Regions from separate parts of the Homo sapiens genome. Here region 1 is linked to region 2. The links are contacts of gene promoters, found by promoter capture Hi-C in blood cells and fetal thymus (Javierre and others, 2016). All regions are on one chromosome and are shown on one strand. Each heading gives the region's core, a stretch centred on a gene start or on the middle of the fragment in contact. The rest is flanking DNA. Distances are from core to core; before and after follow the strand shown. Region 1 overlaps TARS1 (threonyl-tRNA synthetase 1). Region 2 holds the start of TTC23L (tetratricopeptide repeat domain 23 like).

Region 1 (5,894 bases), core at 2,478-4,977, 1.4 Mb before region 2:
GGTGGTTAAGTATACATTTTGCCCGGCACTGATCTGGGCGGTGCATGTGGGAAGATGAATAGGGCCCAGTTCCCCGACTTTGAGGGCCTCACAGGCTGATGTGTAAGAGACAGGAAAACAGCCCTAGTGCTTTGTGATCAACCTTGTGGTATTACAGAAGAGGAAGTTTAGGAAGGCACTTTAGAATTTAGTTTGGAAGAATGATTTCACCAGGTAAACAGGCAGGACGGGGCTTCCCACGTAAAGGTAGGGAAGGCAGTGAAAAGGGGCACGCAGGTGAATTGTCTTTCGGGTTGTTTGCAAGAGATATGCCAGAAGGGTTAAAGGAACAGTAATCAGAAGGATCTTAGGCAACAAGGATGTTTGAAACTTGTATTCTATACATGAAGGATCTTAAGCAGGAAGATTGTATTTGTAAAAGTCACGCTGGCATTGGGATAGAAGGTTAGGCCACATGCAGAAGGCTGTTGTAATAGTCCAAGTGAGAAGTGGTGACGTCTTCAGCTAAGGGATCCTCTATCCCAAGTCTGTGACAGGACAGTTCACTTAAAAGCCAAATTTTTTTCTTGATTGTCCACTCGAGATTGAATGGAGAAACTGCATACGGGCACATTCTAACTATGTAAATTTAATTCTAGATGATAAATGGTGACTATACGTAGATTTTTTTCACATAAAATGATATTTTTACTGTTTTGTAACTTTTTTTTTTTTTTTTTTTTTTGCTTAATAGAATGTGGTCAACAACTTTCCATGTCCATAAATATTCTCCTGTGCTATTCTTAATTGGACGTGATATGTATGGTTAACACATATGTAATTTTTCCTTCCTGTAATAATTATACAATAGTTAATATTTATTTTGAGTACTAAATACGAGTTTGGCACTGTATTAATGCATTCCATGAATTAACTCATTCAGTCTTCTTTTTTTTGAGACGGAGTCTCGCTCTGTCACTCAGGCTGGAGTGCCGTGGTGCGATCTCGGCTCACTGCAAGCTCCACCTCCCGGGTTCATGCCATTCTCCTGCCTCAGCCACCAGGCCTGGCTAATTTTTTGTATTTTTAGTAGAGACGGGGTTTCACCGTGTTAGCCAGGATGGTCTCGATCTCCTGACCTCGTGATCCGCCCGTCTCGGCCTCCCAAAGTTCTTGGATTACAGGCGTGATCCACCGCGCCCGGCCTCATTCAGTCTTCTTAATAACGCTGTGAAGTGGGTTCTGTTATTATCTCCATTATACAGATGAGAAAGCAGGCGTAGGAACAGTAACTTGCTCAAACCCAGTATCCCCGTTTTTTTCCTTCCTCAAACCCAGTATCCTATAGCCAATACTAATAACCCCTGTGCTGTTCTGAGTGAGTCAGGGACAGATCATTCCTGAGAAAGGTAATTCTGTAGCTTCTCTTCACAATCCGGTTCTGTTTCCCAACTTTTGGGTTGAGATTTTAGATTACTTGTATGTAGATGTACATACCATATATACTCAGGGAAATAGAGAACAGTTGCCTACTCTCTTCCCAGTGTTGTAGAAAAGGGGTCATAGGCCTCAGGGTTCCAGAGAGACCTGTTGTAATTTCCCAGCTCTATTACTTAATGATACAAATGGGCAAGTTACTTCTTTGAGCCAGTGTTCTTGTTTGTAAAATGGAGCCGTATTTAGAACCAGAAAACCTTTGTGGTGATTCCCTCTCTCTCTCTCCCTCTCTCTCTCTCTCTCTCTCTCTCTCTCTCTCTCTCTCTCACTACCCCTGTTCATTTGGCAAATGGTCAAAACCAAAATAATCTTATCAGAAATATAAAACTTATTTTATCATCTTTCCATTTTAAACCTGCACAGACCTGCAATTTTTCTTTCTTTTTTTTTTTTTTTTTGTTGTCGTTGTTGTTGTTGAAATGGAGTCTTGCTCTGTCTCCCAGGCTGGAGTGCAGTGGCGCGATCTCTGCTCACTGCAAGCTCCGCCTCCCGGGTTCCAGCCATTCTCCTGCCTCAGCCTCCCGAGTAGCTGGGACTACAGGCACCCGCCACCACGCCCGGCTAATTTTTTTTGTATTTTTTAGTAGAGACGGGGTTTCACCGTGTTAGCCAGGATGGTCTCGATCTCCTGACCTCGTGATCTGCCCGCCTCGGCCTCCCAAAGTGCTGGGATTACAGGCATGAGCCACCGCGCCCAGCCGCAATTTTTCTTTTTACCCAGTATACTTGATCAGTTACATCACTTCTGCAGTATAACAAAGGCTCTATTGAATCTAAATGAACCTTTAAAGTTTATTAAATCCAGACTTCTGGAGTAGGGGGGATTTTAGCTCAGCATGAAATTAGGAGTCATATTTTAAAATTAGTTTTTTTTTTAATTATACAAGTAACGCATTTTATAGGATTTAAAAGACAATGGCCAAAATGTCCATCAACTGATAAATGGATAAGTAAGCAATGGAATATTATTTGATAATAAAAAGGTACAATGACAAGTATTGATGCATGTTACAACCTGATGATCTTGAAATTATTATGCTAACTAAAAGAAGCCTGTCACAAAAGACCACATAATGTGTGATTCTATTTATATGAAATTCCCAGAATAGGCAAATCTATAGAAACAGAAACTAGGTTAATGGTTGCCAGGGTCTGGAGATGAAGGCAACAGGGAGTAAACTGCTAATGGGTACAAGGTTTCTTTTTGAGGGTGATGAAAATACTCTAAAATTGATGGTAGTGATAGTTGCAAAACAGTGAATACCTAAAAACCATTGAATTGTGTACTTTACATGGGTAACTTGTATGGTATATGAATTGTATCTTAAAACTTAAGAAAACTAAAGGTCACAAACATGCAAACTAATTAAAATCCCTGTTTACATTCCTGGCACAGGATTTATTACTTTAAAACTTTCTATGACTTCACTTGCTTCTAATTGAAGTCTGTATTCCTTATGGTAACTTTTAGTTCTTGCTTCTGTGAGCCTTAGTCTGTCTTACCTTGTATTACTTTCTAAAACAATCCTTCATTAATCAGCCTGGTTTAGTCATTTTTTCTCTCTTTAAATTTTAACATTTCTGACAACAAGCTTATGTGTACACATAGGACACATTTCCTGTATTCTCAGAATCCACCTGTTGAAATGCATTCCATCCTTTAAAACGCTAGTCCTAGCTTATTTGACATCTAATCGTAGCGTTACTACTGTGTTTTCTCCTCCGGGAGTTTCTCACACATGTATGCCTTACTTTCCCTGGAGAGACTAGGTTTACACATGGTAGGGATTGGGCCTTATGTTTGCTTCTTCCATGGCTTTTGTTAGCACTGGTGGAATTCATGGGCACACTTTGCATTCAGTTTTTTTTTTTTTCCCCTGGAAATATGCTTACTGAATCAACTGCGTGCTTCCTTGTGGCCATATGTTTGGTATGTGGTCCAAGTAAACCTGAAGCGAGAGTCACAAGAATAGTTAAAATAAAATAAATGAAATTTGAGGAGTTAAACATCGTTAGTAACTCCTTCCTACTTTTTAAAGACTTGCCTTTATTGTAAGTTGTTAACCTGTCTTTGCCAGTGATGAAATTGTTCAGTCTTTCAATATCAGATTTCCATTTTTTTTAAATTAAATAACAAATACTAAAATAACATTCTCAACACTTCCTGGGGCATCACAGGATGGAGGTGTCACATTAGATTAAAATATAAAACGTTTTTTGCTTATTTAGATTGGTGCTGGTGAAGAGAAGCAAAAGGAAGGAGGCAAAAAGAAGAACAAAGAAGGATCTGGAGATGGAGGTCGAGCTGAGGTAAAAGTTATCATCACAGAGGGCTCTGTTATCAGAGGTTGGCAAATCGCAGGGAACTTTCTGAGACTTTCCTAATGTGTAAGGGTTCTAATGGTTTACATGGTAGTGTAAGATGGTACTGGTTGGAAAAATCAGGAAGAAGAATTAGGAAAGGGTAATCTGAGAGGGGAAAAAAGACTTTCAGTTGTTACTGTAAAAGGAAGCAACTGGCGTATGATTGTATAAGATGATCTGATTGTAGGGTTGAATATAAAAATCAGAGAACAAAAGTTGAAGAGGAGACTGGTAATTATTCAGTTGCCAGATGTGATGCCAGCTCTGACATTTCATTAAATGAGATGTTAGGGAATAGAGACTTGGTGTTTGGGCTTACACTGAATACAATGAAAACCAAAGAAAGCCAGTTTTTTGACCCCCTCCTTGCCCTTTCCATCTGGACCTGCCCTAGGGTTGGCTTCTAAGCCAGGACAGATCCCCTTAAGGCCTCTCAAGTCTGCAGAAAATGCTTTCACTTCTCCAGGCTCACACTGAAAGGAACTGGCATATCAAAAGCCAGCCCTAAATCAACCTGGTTCCTGAGTATTTTGCTTTTACAGGCAGTTAAGCTTGCCTTTCTACTTTATTTTTACTGCTGTGAACTGTGCTTCACTTTTTGCTTTAGTCATTACAGCTGTTTTATTGGAGACTCTTTAGAAAGCTACCAGAAGGAAGAAGCACAAAGGAACAGCCTTTTTAGAAGTAGCACAGTAAGCTGGCTTTTAAGAGCCACTTTTACAAATGCTGCAATTGCTAAATTTATAGTGCCGTCATTTACTTTAGGGTAAGTTTATAGATGATCAAGTGTAGTGTTGCTTAGAACCCTACCTAACCATTTATCTTACGGCTGATCAGTTGATCAGTCTCCCGACCATTATACCCCCACTGTAATTGTGAAGAAAATTGTTGATTGTGAATTTTAAAATTTGCAAGCCAATGGAAAAATGCATATGTTCCCTAATTTCTTTTTTATACTTTCAATACAAACATACGTGCTGTTCCATCACAGCTTGAGAAATGACCTGGAAATAAGACAAAGAGTATAATTAGAAGACTCTTCTGAACAGAGAATTTTAAGTGGGACATGTGATTATTTATGTTTAACGATTGGTCTGGAAAAAAGAGTGTACAGTGAACTGTCCAAGACCTTGGTCTTCCCCTCCAAGGGCAACTTGCAGGTTTTATTCATCTCTGCAATCACAGAGACTGACACAGAGGGTATCTGCTGAATGAATGTTGAAGAGATTTTGACACGAAATTCTAATTGGGACATTGCAAGTGGCTATGATGATAAACTGCAGTTAAGATACAGAGGGTGGTGCAGGTGGGTAGGATTATAATGATGCTTTAGAGTGGATGGAACTGGGTACTGTGCATTAGTCTGAGGGGTTCAGATTATGGTTGTAGAATGACAGGCTCTGTCTGAGCTTTTAGTTAATTCATGGGTTCTTCACCATTGAAGGTTATGGACCGTTGTGATAATTTGATGAAAAGCTCTCAACAACTGAACGACTAAAGAAAGGGAGGGACTGCTGTGGGTGGGAATTACAAAGATATTAGGGCCTGATACGGTGGTAGGAACCAATCACTTGAGACTGAGTGGGAGAATCACTGGAGCCCAGGAGTTTGGGGCCAAAATGCGCTGTGACTGTGCCTGTGAATAGTCACTGCGCTCCAGCCAGCCTAGGCAACATAGTGAAACCCTGTCGTTAAAGAATGGAAAGAAGGAGGGAGGGAAGGAATTACTGGGCAGACAATTAATCTTTTTCATTTGATATTATTTTCTATTATCTCCAGTCAATTTTGTTTTGTTTTGTTTTGTTTGAGACAAGGTCTCACTCTGTTGCCCAGGTTGGAGTGCAGTGGCCCAATCTTGGCTCACTGCAACCTCCACCTCCCAGGTTCAAGCAATTCTTATGCCTCAGCCCCACAAGTAGCTGGGACTACAGGTGTGCGCCACCACACCTGGCTAATTTTTGTATTTTTAGTAGAGATAGGATTTTGCCATGTTGGCCAGGGTGGTATCGAACTCCTGGCCTCAAGTGATCCATCTGCCTTGGCCTCCCTAAGTG
Region 2 (6,530 bases), core at 1,193-3,692:
AAATATTTTTGTCTGGGTGGATGGATAGATGTATGGAGATTGGAGAAACTTGCAAATAAACAGAAGTGCCAGTACAATGTGAGAGTCATGATGAGATTGTGGACAGGGTACTGCGAGGGCTCAGAAGCAAGGCATCTAACCCTCTCTTGAGAGGCCATAAAAATGTGTTCCAAGCGAAAGTTTATTTGGATTTCCTTGCCTTAAATTTCACAGTTCCTGGGATAAGAATAGCTTGGAGATAATCACATTTGATTTGGGGTTGTTAGAGCCTAGAAAAACCCCCCATACTGCTTCCTCTATGCAATTTCTGCAATAGCAATGCTTGCCACCTCTACCTCCGGATCAGGGGAGGGAATGTGAATACACACGGTGGAAACGCACTATCCACTTAGATTAGTGGGATGCCATTCTAGAGTTAGTGAACAAACCTAAAAGTGTATATACTACAACTAAAGCTTACATTTGGGGGACAGGGTTAACATGACAAGGAAAGAAATACCAAAAAACTTCAAGAGTCCTCAAAGTTCTGGCTGGACGGTGGCTCACACCTGTAATCCCGGCACTTTGGGAGGCTGAGGCAGGCAGATCACCTGAGGTCAGGAGTTCGAGACTAGCCTGGCCAACACAGTGAAACCCTGTCTCTACTAAAAATACAAAAACTAGACAGACAGTAGTGGCACACATCTGTAATCCCAGCTACTCGGGAGGCTGAGGCAGCAGAATTGCTTGAACCCGGGAGGCGGAGGTTGCACTGAGCCAAGATCACACCACTGCACTCCAACCTGGGCCACAGAGTGAGACTCTGTCTCAAAAAAAGAAAAAAAATAGTCGCCAAAGTTATTTTATTTTGATTTATAATTTTTACAGATGCAGGCAACATGCTTCCGGTCAGAGCTAATGAAATGGAGGCCGAATTAGAGCGTTGGCTTTAGGAATGGGAATTCAGTGCCTGTTCTGGTTCTTCTCTCCACAATTATCAGCAAAAGCAAAGGTTTAGAAAAGAGACATTACCTTTAATATACTTAGAAACAATCTCACAGCCATTTCCTAGAATGAAAGAACATTAAAACCTTTCAATTTGATGACCAACTTAACAAGGGGTAAAAGAAATAAATGTTGGAGAACAGGAAACAGGTTCTTCCTTTTTACTCCCATACATGTTAAATACTGTTCATAGAGTCACAAAAATCGTTTACCCCTTACAGAAACCTGGAACCAGAAGGCGCTTCAGAAAGCAAGTGGTACAAAAACTTTCACCGTATAGGCAAGAAAATTGGGACCCACTGGCCGTGACTCGGCCCAGGCTACAGAGTCAAAACCAGAACCTTGACATTCTGAAATCAGGTTCATTGCTGTCATCATTGTTCCATGCTGAGAGTTTTCTTAGGAAAAAGAATAAAGTGGGGGAATCTTTCCAAAATTGTGACTATGGAGCTCGAAAGTACAGATTTAAATCTTGAGTTAACAGACCATACAGGTTTTACTTAAGAGATATTCAAGCAAACTCATTTAAATAACTCCTCCAACCTAACTCCAAAAAGGCTTTCTTGGCAGTCTTGGATCAATGGCAATTAAACTTCCAGCCTAGAGCTGGAAATAACAAACACCAAACGTAAACACCATCTTTCACATTCTCAATGTTCTCCTTGTCTCTCTACCTAGTCTGCTCTTTTCTGAAAACAACTGGGACACATTCACTCCAACTTGACTTGCCATAGGCCTAGTCTATGATAGGGTTCATAATAACATCCTTCAACATAGCGTTGCAAGAGCTGGCGCTGTTTCTTTGGGTATGGCCACAATTGCCTCTGCACCTTGTGTGTATTACACACACTGTATTCCATGCCAACGAAAGGGTAAGATATGGCTGCATTATTTAGGGCTAAGTGCTAAATAAATAATGAACAGCTAACCATTAGCAGATCTAGTAGTCGATTTCTTACCCTACTCTCTTCCTGCAATCAGCTTTCCTAACCATGCCTAGCTCCAATCTTACTGGGTAACACAGACGGTGCCAGCACAGTCAACAGCCATATCTAAGCCTTTCCTCTGGGGTCCATAAAAACAAAACTCCCGAGGAGCTGTGGGGGTGCACCGTGGCCAGGATCGTCGCCGAATACAGCCCGCACACGTCGCAGCTTTAAATAAGTAGGGCCGTGGGGCCCGGCGCTCCCTTCCATCCTTGGACGGAATGTATCTTCTCTTCCTACGCCTTCACCTCCGAGGGGTAAGGTCTCGTGAGATACAATATGCAGAGGCCAGTTTTGGGGCGAGCCGGAGGCCGGGCGCGTCTAACCTGCGGGGAAGGGAAAGCGGAGGGTAAGGCAAGGGCTGCTGTAGGCGCCAGACAACAGGGACTCTCCGAACCGGAAGTGCCCCGCGTCGCCATGGCTACAGGCGCTCCCAGCAGAACCCGTAGCGTTCCGTTCCCATGGCAACGGTATTGTCTCCTTGGCCGGACCTGGGCTGCGGAAGGTAACTGGGGACGTCGCAGGCTGTGCAGCTTTCGCGAGGCACCGCTTTGGCGCCCGGACCGAGGTGCGCCAGGGTCAGGAGGCCGACGCAGCGGGAGGAAGCCGCGCCGTCGGGCTCAGGGAGCTGGGAGGCTGGTTCCGGGGCGTGGTTTCTCCGCCTTGAGCCAGGTGCCCTTTGCGCACTCGCGCGTTCTCTTAGAGCCTCCGCGGCAGAGAGGCTCTCAGAGCTCGACCTGCGGCGTCAGGGCTTACAGACTTGCCGCAGAACCACAGCGGGAAAAGAGGAGCGATTCGTCCTTGAGGGGCTCAGGGCCGTGCGGAACGTCATAGGAACAGAGTCCGGGAGTTTGAGAGATCAGAACTCTTTGCTGTGGGCATAGTGTTTAAAGTGGAGGTTAAAAAGAGAAATTAGTGACTCTCCCTTTCTGATTTTCGGATAATGGATGCTCTGGAGCCTGGGTCAGAAAGCCACTCAGGGCTCGGTGGGAATTAGTGATTCTGGAGGGTGAAAGGAGAGGCGACTTGGTGGATGTTAACATTCAATAAGTAACTGCGTTCGATTTGGGTTTGATTTAAGCGACTGGCATAGCCTTCCTTGAGAGTTGAATTTCACAAATACTGTATTTAGAAATCACATTTTTCGTTTTGTGCTTCCGAGGTTTCTCCTATCATCTAACAGCAACAACTAAAACAGACACATGAATTTCATTTTATTGTTTTATTTTATTTTGAGACGGAGTCTCGCTCTGTCGCCCAGGCTGGAGTGCAGTGGCGCGATCTCCGCCTCCCGGGTTCAAGCGATTCTCCTGCCTCAGCCTCCCGAGTAGCTGGAACTACAGGCGTGCACCACCACAGCCGACTATATTTTGTATTTTTAGTAGAGACGGGGTTTCACCCTGTTGGCCAGGCTGGTCTCGAACTCCTGAACTCGGGTGATCCACCCGCCTCGGCTTCCCACAGTGCTGGGATTACAGGCGTGAGCCTCTGTACCCGCCTCGTGACCCCTGTACTAGAATCTGCTATTAATTAGTGAAATGACCCCGGGGGGGGGGGGGAAAGCAGAATTAACCAATACACTGGCTGTGCTTCGTTTACCACTGAGAGTTGGTTGCTTTGCTTAAATCCAACACGCCGTCAGACCTGCAAAAACAATATCTGAGTTAAGTAGGTGACCATAGTTTTGATGACCCAGGAACTGTAAATGTGCTTGCTTTGAGACATAAAGGCCAGGGATTTTGGAGAAGTAGGGTGGAGTTGAAATTAGGGGAAAGAAATTTAACTTAGACATTTAATTTGGCAAATGTCTGTTTTCCAGCGGTCTCCATATCTAAGTATGCGTAGTCTGTGGATTTAGGATGGGTTATATATTTGAGCAGTTTTAGTTTAATGTTAATAGCAAACCAGAGGGGGAAAATAGAACAGACACCCAGCCTTTTCTCTCAAAGCTGACCTTACCTGATTCTTGGTAGGAAGAAGATGCAAGCCAGCCCCATCCGTATCCCAACTGTTAGCAATGACATCGACTGGGATTTCTGCTTCCATATGTAAGTATCACAGCATTTTGACATCACAGGTACTTACTGGGCTGAAACACTGGGACCTCCTGCTTAAGGCAAACCTGGGTGAGGAGCTTTGCATGAGAAGCGTTCACGACCAGCCTGACCAACATGGTGAAACCCCGTCTCTACTAAAAATACAAAAATTAGCTGCGCGGTAGTGGCACGCGACTGTAATCCCAGCTACTCGGGAGGCTGAGGCAGGAGAATAGCTGAACCCGGAGGCAGAGGTTGTGGTGGGCTGAGATTCCATCACTGCACTCCAGTCTGGGCAATAGAGACCCTGTCTCAAAAAAAAATAAAATAAAATAAAAAAGAAGGTTGTGTTTCTGATGTGCTTTAATAATGATTCTGCTATAATATCTGTTTGTATTTACAACCTATGCATGATAGAAGATTGCTTTTTCCCGACTTAAGGAAATTTTAAAAGTTTTTAAAATAAAAATAGGTTAGTTATAACAAGATTGGCAAAATTGTAGAGAGTTAGCTATAACAAAGTTAATGAGAAAATTTTTATGAAATAGAGTAAATAAAACTTTCGTATCGTCTAATACTTATTGAGCACATACTATGTGCCAGGCTCTGTTCTAAGTACCTTAAACGTCTTAGCTGATTTAATCCCCCCAAGCCCTGTGAAGGAGTTACTGTTATTGGTACATTTTATAGATGAGTATGAATCAAAGAGATGTTAGGGAGTTTGCCCAAAGTTGCAAAGCTAGTAAATGGTATTTAAACTGGGCATTCTGACTCTAGAATCCATTCTTGTTTTGTTTTGTTTCGTTTTTAGAGACAGCCTTGCTCTGTCACCCAGGCTGGAGTGCAGTGGTGCAATCACGGCTCACTGCAGCCTTGGCCTCTTAGGCTCAAGAGATCCTCCCACCTCAGCCTCCTGAGTAGCTGGGACTACAGGCACACACCACCATACCTGCCTAATTTTTACATTTTTGTAGAGATGCGTTCTCATTATGTTACCTAGGCTGGTCTGGAACTCCTGGGCTCAAGTGATCCTCCTGCCTCAGCCTCTCAAAGTGCTGGGATTACAGGCATGAGCCACTGTGCCCAGGTAGAGTCCATTCTTTAACCATTCTCTATAGCAGGGTTTCTCGGTCTCTGCACTGTTGACATTGGGGTTGGATAACTGTTTGTTGTGGAGGGCTGTCCTATATGTTGTAGGATTTTTAGCAGCATCCCTGGCCACCATCCACTAGATGCCAGTAGCACTAGCTCCAGTTGTGACAAGCAAAAATGTCTCTAGATGCTGCCAGATTTCCCCTCGGGGCAAAGTCATCCTTAGTTGGGAACCATTGCTCTATACCAGTGTCATCAAATAGAAATATAATGCAAACCACATATGTAATTTAAAATTTTCTGCTACCCATATTAAAAGGTGAAATGAAACACATGAATTTAATTTCAATACTATATTTTATTTCAATATATACAAAATATGCTAAAATTATTAATGAAATATTTTATCTTTTTATACTCTTTAAAATACAGCACATATTTTACATTTACAGCACATCTTAATTCAGACCAGCAATATTTCATGTGCTTGATAGCCACATGTGGCTAGTAGTTACCAAGTTGGATAGCATTTTTTTTTTTTTGAGACAGAGTTGTGGAGCACCAGATTCTGTTGCTGTTTGGGGGGCCCCTATGTAACCTGCCACAATCCCTGGTGGACTGAACAAAGGAGGGGTGAATGTGGGAATAAAAGACAAGAGACAAAAGAGTATACTTGGAAGAAGGGGTCAGGGGGCACCTTGCCTCTAGTGGACGAAGGCCCTGAGCTGTACACAGCCCTCTGTATTTATTAGGCAAAAGAGATGGTGAGAAGGGGGGTGGAAGAAGGGGTCAGCTGCTTAGTCCAGAGTAGGCTTGCAAGACTTCATTCCTCAAACAACAGGCTCTAGATGTCACAGTAGATAACCTCAGCGCTAGGGAGTGATTGCCTCCAGCAAACCCTCTGTCGGCAGGAGCACTCGTGAGTTTGCTCACATCCTGCATTCATGATAAACAGTTTGCTGTTTGATCATATCGTCTCCAGTGGAATGCTGAGTTGGTCACATCCCATGGGCCTTCGGCTCCCAGCACAGAGTCTTGCTCTGTCACCCAGGCTGGAGCGCAGTGGTGTGATCTCAGCTCACTGCACCCTTCGCCTCCTAGGTTCAAGCCATTCTCATGCCTCAGCCTCCTGAGTAGCTGGGATTACAGTCTCACTGTGGTATTTTTTAGGAGATACAGGGTTCCACCATGTTGGCCAGGCTGGTCTCGAACTCCTGACCGCAAGTGATCCATGCACCTCGGCCTTCCAGAGTGCTGGGATTAGAGGTGTGAGCCACTGTGCCTGGCCTGGATAGCATAAGTTTAAATTCATAAAATATCTTAAGGTTAAGGGTTATATGACTATAAAAATTGAAGTTCATAAAAATGTCAAGTTCACAGTAAAATATCTGGGAAATAATCGGATAATTTATATCGAACATTACTAATCAGA

What was found. The method cuts DNA at HindIII sites, captures the fragments that hold promoters and counts their contacts. A CHiCAGO score of 5 or more calls a contact.
Region 1: a contact is called between a fragment that was not itself captured here and the fragment with the promoter of TTC23L in region 2, in 1 of 17 cell types (non-activated CD4 T cells). The highest score is 6.2, in non-activated CD4 T cells.

What each region holds. Positions count from the first base shown.
Region 1 is chr5:33,441,619-33,447,512 of GRCh38, forward strand. It overlaps TARS1 (threonyl-tRNA synthetase 1), which reads left to right. Exons shown (of 19, transcript NM_152295.5): 2 at 3,706-3,786. Among named protein-coding and RNA genes, the nearest start is that of TARS1, 3.6 kb to the left of the region's middle. RefSeq lists an enhancer at 1-455. The HindIII fragment of the contact is 1,323 bases long and covers 3,067-4,389 here.
Region 2 is chr5:34,836,722-34,843,251 of GRCh38, forward strand. It overlaps TTC23L (tetratricopeptide repeat domain 23 like), which reads left to right and starts at 2,443. Exons shown (of 11, transcript NM_144725.4): 1 at 2,443-2,538; 2 at 3,944-4,018. The coding sequence starts at 3,951. It overlaps TTC23L-AS1 (TTC23L antisense RNA 1), which reads right to left and starts at 2,611. Exons shown (of 2, transcript NR_183259.1): 1 at 2,462-2,611; 2 at 826-2,296. LOC124900959 (a long non-coding RNA gene) reads right to left here. Exons shown (of 2, transcript XR_007058729.1): 2 at 5,437-6,385. RefSeq lists an enhancer at 2,733-2,842. The HindIII fragment of the contact is 6,317 bases long and covers 454-6,530 here.